Regions from separate parts of the Homo sapiens genome. Here all the other regions are linked to region 1. Evidence: promoter capture Hi-C in 16 types of primary human blood cells and fetal thymus (Javierre and others, 2016). All regions are on one chromosome and are shown on one strand. Each heading gives the region's core, a stretch centred on a gene start or on the middle of the fragment in contact. The rest is flanking DNA. Distances are from core to core; before and after follow the strand shown.

Evidence for each region. Contacts are between HindIII fragments. The CHiCAGO score rates a contact against its expected background, and 5 or more counts as called.
Region 2: a contact is called between the fragment with the promoter of NOTCH1 here and the fragment with the promoter of ABCA2 in region 1, in 5 of 17 cell types (total CD4 T cells, non-activated CD4 T cells, M0 macrophages and 2 more). The highest score is 5.9, in total CD4 T cells.
Region 3: the fragment with the promoter of ENTPD8 here is called in contact with the fragment with the promoter of ABCA2 in region 1 in 5 of 17 cell types (erythroblasts, M0 macrophages, naive B cells and 2 more); the score reaches 9.9 in erythroblasts.
Region 4: a contact is called between the fragment with the promoter of DIPK1B here and the fragment with the promoter of ABCA2 in region 1, in 1 of 17 cell types (fetal thymus). The highest score is 6.6, in fetal thymus.
Region 5: a contact is called between the fragment with the promoter of LCN6 here and the fragment with the promoter of ABCA2 in region 1, in 12 of 17 cell types (endothelial precursors, erythroblasts, M0 macrophages and 9 more). The highest score is 10.3, in endothelial precursors.

Annotation. Positions count from the first base shown.
Region 1 is chr9:137,026,958-137,029,528 of GRCh38, reverse strand. It overlaps ABCA2 (ATP binding cassette subfamily A member 2), which reads left to right and starts at 1,292. Exons shown (of 49, transcript NM_001606.5): 1 at 1,292-1,454. The coding sequence starts at 1,389. It overlaps LINC02908 (long intergenic non-protein coding RNA 2908), which reads right to left and starts at 2,065. Exons shown (of 3, transcript NR_171031.1): 1 at 1,618-2,065. RefSeq lists an enhancer at 407-1,151 and a silencer at 1,035-1,214. The HindIII fragment of the contact is 3,387 bases long and covers 1-2,571 here.
Region 2 is chr9:136,544,777-136,547,347 of GRCh38, reverse strand. It overlaps NOTCH1 (notch receptor 1), which reads left to right and starts at 1,300. Exons shown (of 34, transcript NM_017617.5): 1 at 1,300-1,622. The coding sequence starts at 1,562. It overlaps MIR4674 (microRNA 4674), which reads left to right and starts at 1,089; the gene lies at 1,089-1,175. RefSeq lists enhancers at 1-443, 2,416-2,465 and silencers at 636-735, 1,076-1,635, 1,656-1,915, 2,136-2,185. The HindIII fragment of the contact is 3,030 bases long and covers 1-2,270 here.
Region 3 is chr9:137,440,036-137,442,606 of GRCh38, reverse strand. It overlaps ENTPD8 (ectonucleoside triphosphate diphosphohydrolase 8), which reads left to right and starts at 1,250. Exons shown (of 10, transcript NM_001033113.2): 1 at 1,250-1,321. RefSeq lists a silencer at 1,096-1,390. The HindIII fragment of the contact is 13,084 bases long and covers 429-2,571 here.
Region 4 is chr9:136,711,288-136,713,858 of GRCh38, reverse strand. DIPK1B (divergent protein kinase domain 1B) reads right to left here and starts at 1,287. Exons shown (of 5, transcript NM_152421.4): 1 at 1,131-1,287. The coding sequence starts at 1,193. RefSeq lists an enhancer at 1-624. The HindIII fragment of the contact is 2,091 bases long and covers 1-1,904 here.
Region 5 is chr9:136,747,246-136,749,816 of GRCh38, reverse strand. It overlaps LCN6 (lipocalin 6), which reads left to right and starts at 1,292. Exons shown (of 7, transcript NM_198946.3): 1 at 1,292-1,423; 2 at 2,254-2,393. The coding sequence starts at 1,334. It overlaps LOC100128593 (a long non-coding RNA gene), which reads right to left. Exons shown (of 3, transcript NR_033913.1): 2 at 1,245-2,571; 3 at 1-1,071. The HindIII fragment of the contact is 9,973 bases long and covers 1-2,571 here.

The DNA of each region.
Region 1 (2,571 bases), core at 43-2,542:
GCTGGGGAGGCACTGGGGATGCGGCTGCAGCCAGGGAGCCCCTGTAGTGGACGGTGGAGAGTGGGGCGAGGAGGAGAGAGGCCAACCCACGGGTGGTGCTGACCAGGGCCCCAACAGGCTAAGCCCCCGGGGCTGGGGCACAGGGCTTGTCCCTACCCCAGGTAGGGGTGGGCAGGTTGAGGGCAGGAAGCCCCCCTCACCCATGGCTGTGGCTTGTGGGAAAGACCTGCTGGTAGCTTCCTGCCCTGACCCAGCCCTGTGGACTGAGCAGAGAAAAGCAAGTGCCTTGAGGCTGCGGGCTGGGGTGGGAAGCTGATCCCTCACTCACTAGCCCAGGGTCACCTTCCTGCTGCAAAGGAGCTGGGAGGAGTGGGGAGCTGTGGCCTCGGAGGTCTTCATTCACTTGAGGATGCGCCTTCTATGTGCGCCCTGACACTGGACACCACACAGCGCTACTCCACCCCATTCACAGGGGGGAAACTGAGTCTGGGAAGCGCCGTCAGAGCCACCCATGGGGTCAGCCTGTCCTCTGTCGCTCTCTACAGGCCACGCGGAGGAACTGCCCCACCTCCCGGGGCGCCCCAGCAGGTGCCAAGCCACAGCCGCAGAACCGCCTGATCCCGAACTCCCTGTGCAGAGACCAGACTCGCCCGAATATGGGGAGAAAAACGAGCCGCGTGCAGCAGGGGCCGCCTCGGTCCCCTGCCTGCTCCGCTCACGGCGAGCGTTCCTGGGGCCTCGAGTTTCCCCCCTTCCGCTGGCTGCTCGGAATCGCGGGACGGACCCACCTGGCCGCCCTGCCTCCCTTCCAGGTGGGCACCACCTGGACTCCAAGTGCTGGTTTACAAAGCACACAGGAGACCCTTACGGGGGTGAGCTGGCCCCTCGCCAGCGTCCGCTCGGCGCGCCCCGGGGACAGTGAAGGCTTGGGGCGCCTCTGCAGAGTCGCCAGCGCGGTGGGCGCAGCCGGATGCCTCTGGGAGAAGAGCGCAGCGCCCGAGGGTCCCCCGGCCTACGAAGGCTAAGCCGGGGTCTCGGATTCGATGTGGGCGCGTCGCGTGACGCCCGGCGAGGGGCGGCCCGGAGGCTTCCCGGCGGCGGCGCGCGCAGGGTCTCGGGCCCGGGTCGGTCCCGGGCGCGGCGCGGGCGGCGGGCGCCTCCTGGCGGGCGCGGACGGAGCGCGGCGCCTTTAAGCGGGGGCGGGCGGGGCGCGGGCAGAGTCGCTGTCGCCGCGGCCGCCGGGGCGGAGCCAGCGCGGATCGGGTCCCGGACGCCCGAGCGCCCCGCCCCCGCGCGGGCGATGCCCAGCGGCGCGGCGGGCTGCGGGGCCCGGCGGGGCGCGCAGAGGAGCGGGCCGCGGCGCTGAGGCGGCGGAGCGTGGCCCCGCCATGGGCTTCCTGCACCAGCTGCAGCTGCTGCTCTGGAAGAACGTGACGCTCAAACGCCGGAGCCCGGTGAGCCCACCCCACGCGCCCGCCCTCAGCCCGAGGCCGCGCGCACCGCGGCCAGAGGCGCGCTCCCCGCGCGCACGTGCGGACGGCCGGGCGCGCGCAGACCCCGGCGGGCGCTGGGGGCGGCGCGGGCCCGAGCCCCCTCCCCGCCGGGCCCTGCCCTCGCCTGCCGGCGCTGCGGCCTCCGGGGAGGTGGCTCGGTCGTGTCCAGTCCGGTCCCGCGTCCGCTGACATCGCGGTGCTCGGCTGAGTCACGGCACCCGCGCCCTCTGCAGCGCGCTCGCTGGGGCCGCTGTGGGCGGGGGGCAAGCGGCGCTCAGGACTCTGGCTCGAGGGAGGCCCTGGTTCCCAGGACAGAAGGCAGGCCTGGGGGGCTCCATTCAGCTGCGAGGCTCCATGGTCCTTGGGCCCAGCCTCCCTGGGGTCCCGGAGGAGACCCTGTCCCTTCCCTCCGTCCACCCCTCCCCTGCCCTTGGGCCGCGGCCTGCCATAGAGGTTGGTCCCAGGCATCTCTCCGCCTCCCCTCCTGGCACATCCGTGACCCTTGCTCATGCTCTCGCCACTGGGAATGTCCTTGTGCCAGCCTTGGCCAGCCTGAATCTCTGCACCCATTTGTCCTTTGGGGTCAGTTCTCCCCGAGCCTGATCCACTCTGTTGCCTCCTGGTCCCCCCACCTGCTCTGGGGGCTGGGTCTACTGTTTGGAGCTGTGAACCCCGGCTTTCCCAGCACTGCCTGGGCAGCCAGTGGACCTGAGGGTGCAGGACACATGGCTGTCAGGGACAGAAGTCCTTCGTGGAGCGAGGGGCTTGGGGATATGGGTGTCCTGCCATACCCCCAGCTGGCCAGCTTGGCTCCAGCCTGGGAAGGGAAGGGACACCTCCCAGGCCACAGGCCTGGACCAGCTTAGGTTTCTGAAGGCCCTTGGGATTGTCCAGGCCAGGGCTCAGAGCAGGTGGGGGCCTAAGGCAGACATCCTCTTGCCCAGCCAGGGCCCGGGCGGGACCCCTTGGGCTGCACCAGTCCGTGCCTGTTTATCTTTCAACATGCACTGCAGGAAACCCAGGCTGCAGTCAGCTGGGGTGGCCATCATCACCATGGCTGGCAGAATTCCCCTGGGCA
Region 2 (2,571 bases), core at 51-2,550, 480 kb after region 1:
AGGCGAGGGAGGCTCCCAGCAGCAGCTACAGGGGCGGGACAGGCCGCCTGCACTGGCTGTTTCCAGAGTGCTCAGCATTTGGCAAGAGGTGTGCCAGGAAAGGCTTGCTGGGGTCAGGTGTGAGATTTGTCCTGCTTTCTGTGCCTGCCTCTGCCACCATGCTCTGGGGTTTCTGCAGCCCTCCCCCCAGGCCCCCACAGTCCTAGGTCCCTCCCAGCCTTTCGGTCTCCCCGCAGGGCAGGCTTAGCCCTCCTACTCCAGGAGGGGCGCCGGGACACGCGCCTTCTGCCATCGCACTCACCACCCTGTGTTGGGGTGGGGAGGGGGCGCTGTCTGTCCCTGGCACGAGGCCGTGAACTTTGCGCAGGGACTATGGCAGGCATTTTGGACTCCTGGCGCTTAACCAGGCTTGGCACAGGGTGCCCGTGCCTGGCATCGTGGTGGAGAAATAAATCAGCCGGAAGGAGCACGTGGGAAGGGCTGCGCCGGCGCCAGCGGCAGATCCGCCCGACCCGTTTGTGCTTTCTGGGGCCACCTTAGGCAGGCGGCGCCCGGGCAGGAGGAGGACGGTGACCGAGGAGCGTGTCGACGCGGGTCCCCCTTGGGGGAGCGGGGCACAATCCGTCCGCGAGGCACTGGTCCCGGCTGCTCCCTCGGGGCGCCCGGAGTCCCCTGCCCAGAGGCCGCGGCGCCCCCATCCCTCGCGGTCAAGTGCTCGGGCAATCACGGCCAGGGATGTCTGGCGGCGATCGATCCTCTGGACGCCTAAAGCCGCGGCCACGGGGCCCTCGGGAGGGAGTGAAGCCGCTGGGCTAGGGGCGCACACACGGCTAGGCCACTCTCCCAGAGCCCTGCCCCGGGCCCGGGGTCCCCCAACGTGGCCTCAGCTGCTCCCCGCCCGGCCCAGCGCACGGTGCACACGGCTGTCCGCGGCCTCGCCCTCCCCATTCCGCCCCGGGCTCCTCCGCTTATTCACATGCAAATTTCAGTCGCCAGTTGTCGCCGAGCGCGGCAACCGCCAGAGCCGGATCCTTCCGCAGCCCCGGCTCAAACTTTTGGCCTCTGAAAACTTTCAAACGAGAAGTAGTCCCAGGCGCCCGCTCCCGACCCACGCCGCGCCGCCGGGTCCCTCCTCCCCGGAGAGGCTGGGCTCGGGACGCGCGGCTCAGCTCGGGGAGGCGCAAAGGCGGACGGGGCGTGCGGGAGGAGGTGGCCGCGGAGGGGGCGGGGGGACCGGCGGGGGTGGGGCCGGGCGGGGCGGGGCCGGCGGGGGCGGAGCGCACCTCGACTCTGAGCCTCACTAGTGCCTCGGCCGCGGGAGGGAGCGCAAGGGCGCGGGGCGCGGGGCGCGGGCGCGGGCGCGAGCGCAGCGAAGGAACGAGCCGGGCGCGGAGCCGGGCCCGGGGGCCTGCGAGAGCACAGCGCCGCCAGCCAGCCGGGGAAGAGAGGGCGGGACCGTCCGCCGCCGCCCCGGGACCGTACGCCGCGCGTGTGCGTCCCAGCCCCGCCGGCCAGCGCAGGAGGCCGCCGCCCGGGCGCAGAGGGCAGCCGGTGGGGAGGCATGCCGCCGCTCCTGGCGCCCCTGCTCTGCCTGGCGCTGCTGCCCGCGCTCGCCGCACGAGGTAGGCGCCCACCCACCCGCGAGCCCCCACTTTCCGCGCCCTTTGGAAACTTTGGCGGCGCCCGGCGCGCGCGCCCCACGGCTGGGAGCGGGCGGCGGGGAGGCCAGCATGGAGAGGGAAAAGCGGGCGGCCCGGGGCGTGGGGTTCTGGAGTCCCGGGATCAGGGAGGACCGACCTTCCCCCTCGATCCCCCCGTGGAGGCGGACTCGCGCCGCCCGTGCCTGGAGCCGAGTTAGGAGGCCGGTGTGGGGTGCTGGGGCCCCGGAGGCCCTACTCCGGGCCCGCCCTTCACCCGCCGCGCGTGGGGCTTGCCGCCGGTCGGCCGGGCGGGCGGGCTGCCTACTATTTTTCGATTTGAATAGAGTCGGTTTTGGTTTCCTGTTGCTTCTCCGGGCCATTTATCTTCTTTCTTCTTCGCCTCTGGCCCACGCCGGGGCGGATGTTGGGGCGCGGAGTGTGGGCTCTGCGGCGCCGCGTTCGCCTTCACTGACCCGCGCGGCCGGGCTGGGTCCCCGGGCTCCCGGTCGCCCCGCCCGCCGGTGCCCCCCAGCCCGGCTCTCAGTTTGGGGGAGGGGTTGCGTAAGAAGCCGCCGCGCCCGGGGGGACTGAACTTTCCTTTTGCTTTGCGGAGTTGAAGTTTGGAAAGCTTGGGGGCGGAGAGCGGGACGCGGGTGGGGGGCTCTTACATTTCTCCCCGCCGCACAGCGAGCGGGGTCTCTGGGGAATCGAGTGATTAATCCACTCTTTCTCCGAGAGTTGGAGGCGAGAATTATCTGTCCTCTTCCAGAAAGTGCGGCTCTGTGTCACACCCCCCTCCCCCGTTTCTCAGCCCCGGTAAGATGGGGAGGGAGGGGCTTGAGTAATTGATCCCTTCTCGAGATGGGGTCGAATTCCTTCCGAATGGGGGACCTTCATCCCCCTCCTGTGGGTGTATGGGGGCTGCCCTGGA
Region 3 (2,571 bases), core at 1-2,500, 410 kb before region 1:
TAGCCTGGGTGACAGAGCGAGACTCCATCTCAAAAAAAAAAAAAAAAAAGGACAACTTCCCAGACTCATTTTATAAGCCCAGCATTATCCCCATACAGAAACCAGGACTAAAAAAGAAAACTATGCAACTTTGTTGAACACAACTGCAAAAATCCTCAACAAACACATTTGACTCTTATGACCCATGGCAGCTAGTGTATAAAGTTGCTGCAAACACTGAATTAAAGAATATGCTAAACTATTGCTCCTAAGGGAAATGCAAAGTTCTGTTCCTGCAAGCTTCTGGTCACATTTTTGTTAAATGATCAATATATTAATAAAACCTTCTTTTATGTGTATTTTTGTTTAAGGGCACCTTACTTAATATGTATTGTATCACTAACATTGAACTCATGGCCAACAGCGCTAACTCTTGCACGAATGAAGCTTATCCAATGTGTGTTTTCTCTGTAAAGTGCATCTCAGCCTTCTTGCATTTCTGCACTATGCTGAGACGCCATTATAAACAGTGAAATCACCAAGAAAAAGCACAAAAATGCACACACATGACACCAAATATGCTACCAGTAAAGAGAGTCCCGATTGAGACCCCAAGAGGGTTCTTGGATCTCACACAGAAAGGAATTCACCGCCCCCCCGCATTCCCCCACCCTATTCCCCGCCCCCCAACACCCCCAGCCCCACCCAGCCCGGCCCTGGCTCCGCGCCTCCCCCAGCCCCGCCCCGCTTCAGAGGCCCGGACCCCGACGGCGGCGGCCCCGGGACCCACGGCGAGCGGGAAAGGCAGAGTGGCTGCAAATGGAAAACGACGGGCGCCGCGGGGCTGCAGGCGCTTCCGCCCCCGCCCCGGGCCTGGACCTTCGGGGTCACCTGACTCCGACCTGCCCGGGCCGGGCGGCACGGGGGGTAAAGTCCGGGCCGGGGTCAGGAGCGCGGCTGCGGGCCGTGGGGGGCGGGGTCCCGGAGTTCTGCCCCTCGCAGCTCCAGGCTCCTCCTCAGCTTCCCTCTCCTGCCTCCCACCCCCCCGGGGGCGGGGCGACCCTGGGCACCGAGACAGACCCGCGGGTGGGAGATGCGGGGAGACCCTGGGCGGGGGACCCGAGGGTGGAGTGGGCGGGGCGACCTTGGGCGCTGGCCTCAGCCTGCGGGCCCTGGAGCCAGGTGCACAGCGCATCGCCCGAGGCTGTCACCGCCCTGCCCCGCCCACCCCAGCTGTCCTGGACCCAGGGGCAGGGAGAGGCTGGACGCCAGGTGCGCGGACACAGAAGCGTCTAAGCACAGCTTCCTCCTTGCCGCTCCGGGAAGTGGGCAGCCAGCCCAGGTGAGGGTCCAAAGGGATGTCCTGGGGGGGCTGTCCTGGTCTGGGGGGCTGTCCTGGTCTGGGGGGCTGTCCTGGTCTGGGGGGCTGTCCTGGTCTGGGGGGGCTGTCCTGGTCTGGGGGGCTGTCCTGGTCTGGGGGGGCTGTCCTGGTCTGGGGGACTGTTCTGTCTGAGGGGGTGTCCTGGTCTGGGGGGGCTGTCCTGGTCTGGGGGGCTGTCCTGGTCTGGGGGGCTGTCCTGGTCTGGGGGGCTGTCCTGGTCTGGGGGGGCTGTCCTGGTCTGGGGGGCTGTCCTGGTCTGGGGGGGCTGTCCTGGTCTGGGGGACTGTTCTGTCTGAGGGGGTGTCCTGGTCTGGGGGGGCTGTCCTGGTCTGGGGGGCTGTCCTGGTCTGGGGGGCTGTCCTGGTCTGGGGGGGGCTGTCCTGGTCTGGGGGGCTGTCCTGGTCTGGGGGGGCTGTCCTGGTCTGGGGGGCTGTCCTGGTCTGGGGGGGCTGTCCTGGTCTGGGGGACTGTTCTGTCTGAGGGGGTGTCCTGGTCTGGGGGGGCTGTCCTGGTCTGGGGGGCTGTCCTGGTCTGGGGGGGCTGTCCTGGTCTGGGGGGGGCTGTCCTGGTCTGGGGGGCTGTCCTGGTCTGGGGGGGCTGTCCTGGTCTGGGGGGCTGTCCTGGTCTGGGGGGGCTGTCCTGGTCTGGGGGACTGTTCTGTCTGAGGGGGTGTCCTGGTCTGGGGGGCTCTCCTGGTCTGGGGGGGGCTGTCCTGGTCTGGGGGGCTGTCCTGGTCTGGGGGACTGTTCTGTCTGAGGGGGTGTCCTGGCCTGGGGGGCTCTCCTGGTCTGGGGGGGGGCTGTCCTGGTCTGGGGGGCTGTCCTGGTCTGGGGGGGGCTGTCCTGGTCTGGGGGCTGTCCTGGTCTGGGAATCTGTTCTGTGTGAGGGGGTGTCCTGGTCTGGGGGGCTCTCCTGGTCTGGGGGGGGCTGTCCTGGTCTGGCGGGGGCTGTCCTGGTCTGGGGGGCTGTCCTGGTCTGGGGGGCTGTCCTGATCTGGGAGTCTGTTCTGTGTGAGGGGGTGTCCTGGTCTGGGGGGGCTGTCCTGGTCTCAGGGACTGTTCTGTGTGAGGGGATGTCCTGGCCTGGGGGACTCTCCTGGTCTGGGGGGGCTGTCCTGGTCTGGGGGGGCTGTCCTGGTCTGGGGGGCTGTCCTGGTCTGGGGGGGCTGTCCTGGTCTGGGGGACTGTTCTGTCTGAGGGGGTGTCCTGGTC
Region 4 (2,571 bases), core at 38-2,537, 320 kb after region 1:
AGCAGTTCACAAGGCCAGGAAACTGAGGCCCTCGCCACTAGAGGGGCAGGCTGGGCTCCCACCAGGGCTCTGGCCCCGAGCCAGCCACCCTGGGAGCAGCCAACACCCCTCTGCTGCCATTCCTGGGCGGAGCTCCAAGCATCAGCATCTCTTCTGCAGCTGCTGGTCGAGGCCTTTCCTCGGGGGAGGGGACCACTGTGCACCCCACCTCCCAGCGACTGGGGTGGTCCTCAGACCCCTTAGCTCTCACCCTGCCCCAAGGCTGAGCCGGGACCACCACAACCTGAAGCCCCAAGTGGGCACAGAGGGTCTCGCTGCAATCTGTGGGTTGCCAGGTTCCATACGCTCTTCCCAGAAGGGGAGCTGAGGCCAGCCAGGCCCTGAGCTCAGGCAGGACGCAGGCAGGGTTCCTCCTGCTGACCCAGGACCACCCTGCGGGGGCCGGGGAGATACAGGCAAATCTGACCAGGACTGGCGCCTCCGGCAGATGGCTGGGGTCCTGGAGGGTCTGGGAGGGCATCCCATCCGAGGCCGGGCCCCGGATGATTGGAGCCTGATGGGCCTGGCCTGCATCTCCCCAAAGCAGAAGGTGAAAGGGCTCCTGGCAGCTGGAACCCAAGGCGGCCCGGGCCTCCCCTGCGGACCCGGCCAGGCCCCTGGAGGGGACGGTGGTTCAAGGTCATCCCGGGGTCAGGGCAGGGTCCCCGCGCTACGGCTGGCTGATGGGATGAAGGGGCAGGGGGCGGGGAGGTCATGTCCTTGCCAGGGCGTTTCTGTGCGTCCCAAGTTTTCTACCGCAGAATAACACACCTCATTTTTTAAGTGGAGAAAAGAAGAAAGGACTTCGGTGTGGTTTCTGGGCCTGGGGGGCAGGGACCGCCTGCAGGTCGGGGCGAGGGCCTCCAGGCCGCAGCATCCCCGCGCCCGGACCCTCCTGTCGCCGCCACCGCCCCTCCCCCAGCGTCCCGTCCTTCCGGAGCCACTCGCCCCCTCCCCGCTGCCCACCCCGGGCTCATGAACCCTTCGTGTCCGAACCCGGGGCCCCGCTCCGTACTCGGCCCACTCCGGGGCTGGAGCTCGGCCTCCCCAGGCAGAGGCGGCCGGGGGCGGCGGGCGCGCACCGCGCTTACCTGCAGGCGCTTGGAGAAGGGGCAGAAGAGCACCAGGTGCGCCAGGCGCCGCAGCCGCCGCATGGTGGGCTCCGGCCGGGGCTGCGCGGGCCCCGCGGCTCGCTCGGCCTCAGCCCCGGCCCGGCCCGGCCCGCAGCGGCCGCCGCTCCCTCGCCATGCGGGCCGCGCGCCCCCGGGCCCGCGTTAAAGGCGAGGGCGCGCGCCTTTCTGTCGGCCGACGGCGGCGCGGCGGGGGCGCGCGGGGGAGGGTCGCGGCGGAGGCGCGCGGGGGCGGGGCTTGGCGCGCGGCCCGCCTTCGACCCCCGGCTCGGCTGAGGAGGGGGCGGGCACCGAGGCCCCGCCCACCCGCAGACCCCGCCCCTCATGCAACGGTGCTGCGGGAGGGGCTGGGGGCGCGCGGGATGGGCCGGGAGGCGGAGCCGGGGCCGGGGGCGCGCCTGTCGGGCTCCTGGGCGTCTCGGGGGCTCTTCCCACGCTGGAGAGAGGCCCCGTGCGCTACGCAGGCTGCGGGGTTCAGGGCTCCCCACGCGCGCCCCCGGTTCGAGGCCGCAGAGCCAGGGCTGGTCCTTCCCCTGGGTCCTCAGGATGGGGTCAGACGCGCGGAGCCCTGGGCTGGCCGAGCCTGCAGCCCGCCCCGGGGTCCGACCCTTCCCTCCTGGCTGAGACCCCGCGCCTTGGCCACTCGCCGGGAGGACACTTCCTTCGCCTCCGCGTGGGGTGCTCGGGGATGAGCCGTTGCCGCCTCCATAGGCAGGTTCCGTGTGAACAGAAGCTTTCATTGCACTTCGGTAAACACCTGGGGGGGCTGAGTTGGACGGTGAGGGATGTGGGGCGCAGCCAGCAGCTGCCAAGACTCGCTCCCTCCCCGCGGCCGCCGGCGCTTCCAGCTGCTCCGCATCCCGGGCGGCTCTTGCTATCGGCAGGTTTTTACATTTTAGCCATTTCCCTGGTGGTGGCGTCTCGCTGGGGCTGTGGTTCGCGTGTTTAACACACTTTCTGCGTGTTCAGTTACCACCTGTGTATCTTCTCCAAAGTCTATTCAAGTTTTTGACCATTAATAAAAATCACGTTGTTTCTTTATTATTAAGTTTTGAGACTTATTTACATTTTGGTTTTAATTTTTAATATCTAGAATGAGACTGGGTCTCAGTGTTTTGCCCAGGCTGGTCTCGAACTCCTGGGCTCAAGGGATCATCCTGCCTTGGCCTCCCAAAGTGCTGGGATTACAGGCATGAGTCACCTGGTGCCCAGCCAAGACTTTTTTTTTTTTTTTTTTTTGAGAGGGAGTCTTGCTATGTTGCCCAGGCCGGAGTGGTCTCAAACTCCTGGCCTCAAGTGATCCACCTGCCTCAGCCTCCTAAAGTGCTGGGATTACAGGCGTGAGTCACCATGCCTGGTCCGAGACTTCTTTATATCTTCTGGATATCTGCCCATTATTACA
Region 5 (2,571 bases), core at 43-2,542, 280 kb after region 1:
ACCTCAGCTTCCTGAGTAGCTGGGACTACAGGAGCACGCCACCATGTCCAGCTAATTTTTAAACTTGCTTGTAGAGACGAAGTCTTGCTATGTCGCCCAGGCTGGTCTCAAACTCCTGGACTCAAGTGATCCTCCCGCCTCAGCCTCCTGAAGTGCTGGGATTACCGCGAGCAGCCACGGCTCCCTCCTGAAGGCTCCAGGCCTAAGTGTCCCGCTCCCTTGTTCTGTGGCTCAGCCCCTGGGCAACTCCTGCTTGCCATGGCTGTGGCTGGCACCTCCGTGGCCCCACTGCCCGGTCAGTCTTCGCAGGCCCAGCCCCCAGTAGCTGTGTGGTTTCTGCCTTCCTCCTGCACTCTGGTGGTCACAGGCCCTGCTGCGTGGGTACAGGGCAGGTGGCCAGGGCTGCAGCATAAGCTCTGTGAGTGCAGGCGGCCCTGGGCACTGGAGCCTTGTTGCATGGACGTGCTCCTTGCACCCTTGTTGATGAATGAGCGAAGGTGTGTGGGAGTGAATCCCAGAGGGTGCAGGCCACGGCACTGGGGGAGGACCCTCCCGGCTGCCTCCCAGTGGGCTTCAGGGGCTCAGATAGACCCTGCCGAGCACCTCTGTCCTCTGCTCCCGGACTGGGGCTGCAGAGAGCTCTCAAGGGGCCTTGGGAGGCACAAGCAGGCCAGGGTCCCAGGGAGGGGAGGCAGGAGGCAGCAGGGCCGGATGGTGGGCTGCAGAGGTGGAAGGAACAGGACAGTCTGTTCTGGGGGTGCTGGCTGTGGGGGACAGAGGCCAGGCCACAAAGCAGAATGGTGGGTGGGCCAGGAGGAGGTGGGAGCCTTTTTCAAAAGGCTTTCAGGGACTTTTTATATTTAATGATTGAAACAAAAGATATCCAAAACCGCAGTTCCTGAGAACCACTTGTTCTCGCCCTGGTTCCTCTCCTTGGGCTTGACCTTGGCCTCCTGCCGGGCCTGGCAGCGGACAGCAGTCTCCCTGCTTCCCAGGCTGGGCGAGGGAGAGCGTGGGTCCCCAGGAACGGGGGAGGTGGTGCGGCTGGCTTTAGGATGCCCATTCTGGAACCTTCTGGTGGAAGAAAGCAGGGGATCAGTATAGTATGGTTGATCCACACACTCCAGACCCTCTCCTGGCTGTGCAGCTGGTCTGATCTGGGCTCAGAGGCTGCCACTGCTCAGTGCTCCCCTGGGTAATTTTGCAGGAGGCCAGGAGGGTTCCTGGCAGTTAGTGCCACCCACACGGAGAAATTCAGAGCCATATAAACGGGTCTCCAGGGCCTGGAGGGACTGCACATCCTGGGCCTGCGGCGCAGTGTAGACCTGGGAGGATGGGCGGCCTGCTGCTGGCTGCTTTTCTGGCTTTGGTCTCGGTGCCCAGGGCCCAGGCCGTGTGGTTGGGAAGACTGGACCCTGAGCAGGTACAGTCCTCCTGGGGGTGGGGAGAGCTGGTCCTCGGGGGCCAGCCCCTCCTTTAAGGCCACACAGCTTCTGGGCCCCCCAGGGCTAGCCCAGACCAGCATGAGCAGTGGGGAATTAGTTGGGCCAGCCCTTGGGGAGTCCCACAGGCAGGAGCCTCAGGGCAGGAGGGGTGGATGCTGGAGGGTTGGAGGCTGGAGGGCTGGAGAATTGGAGGCTGGAGACTGGAGGTTGCAGGGCTGGAGGGTGTAGGGTTGGAGAACTGGAGGCTGGAGGGCTGGAGGCTGTAGGGCTGGAGAACTGGAGGCTGGAGGCTGCTGGGCTGGAGGCTGGAGGGCTGTAGAACTGGAGGCTGGAGGGCTGGAGGCTGGAGGGCTGCAGAACTGGAGGCTGGAGGGCTGGAGAGCTGGAGACTAGAGGCTGCAGGGCTGCAGGCTGGAGGTTGGAAGGCTGGAGGGCTGGAGCCTAGAGGCTGTAGGGCTGGAAGGCTGGAGGCTGGAGGGTTGGAGGTCTGGGGGGTTGGAAGCTGGAGGCTGGAGGGCTGGAGAACTGAAGGCTAGAGGCTGCAAGGCTGGAAGGTTGGAGGCTGGAGGGCGGGAGGGTTGGAGACTGGAGGCTGGAGGGCTGGATGGTTGGAGGGTGGAGGCTGGAGGCTGCAGGGCTGGAAGGCTGGAGGCTGGAGGGTTGGAGGCTGGAGGCTGGAGGGCTGGATGGTTGGAGGGTGGAGGCTGAGGCTGGAGGTTTGGAGGCTGGAGGCTGAGGCTGGAGGGTTGGAGGCTGGAGGCTGGAGGCTGGAGGGCTGGCGGCCCTAACGGGAGCCGCCTCAATGCAGCTTCTTGGGCCCTGGTACGTGCTTGCGGTGGCCTCCCGGGAAAAGGGCTTTGCCATGGAGAAGGACATGAAGAACGTCGTGGGGGTGGTGGTGACCCTCACTCCAGAAAACAACCTGCGGACGCTGTCCTCTCAGCACGGGTGAGTGGGCGGGTCCTGCCAGGCCTTCCCGCAGGCAGGACTGTGGCTCAGCCACATCATGTACTTTGCACATCTGCTCCCGGGCACCGCGGCCTGGGGGCTTCCCACGGCCCCTCTGCACCCCCGTCACTTTTCCCACTGGGCTCTGTGCAGAGCCACCAGCCCTCTGCCCAGCTAC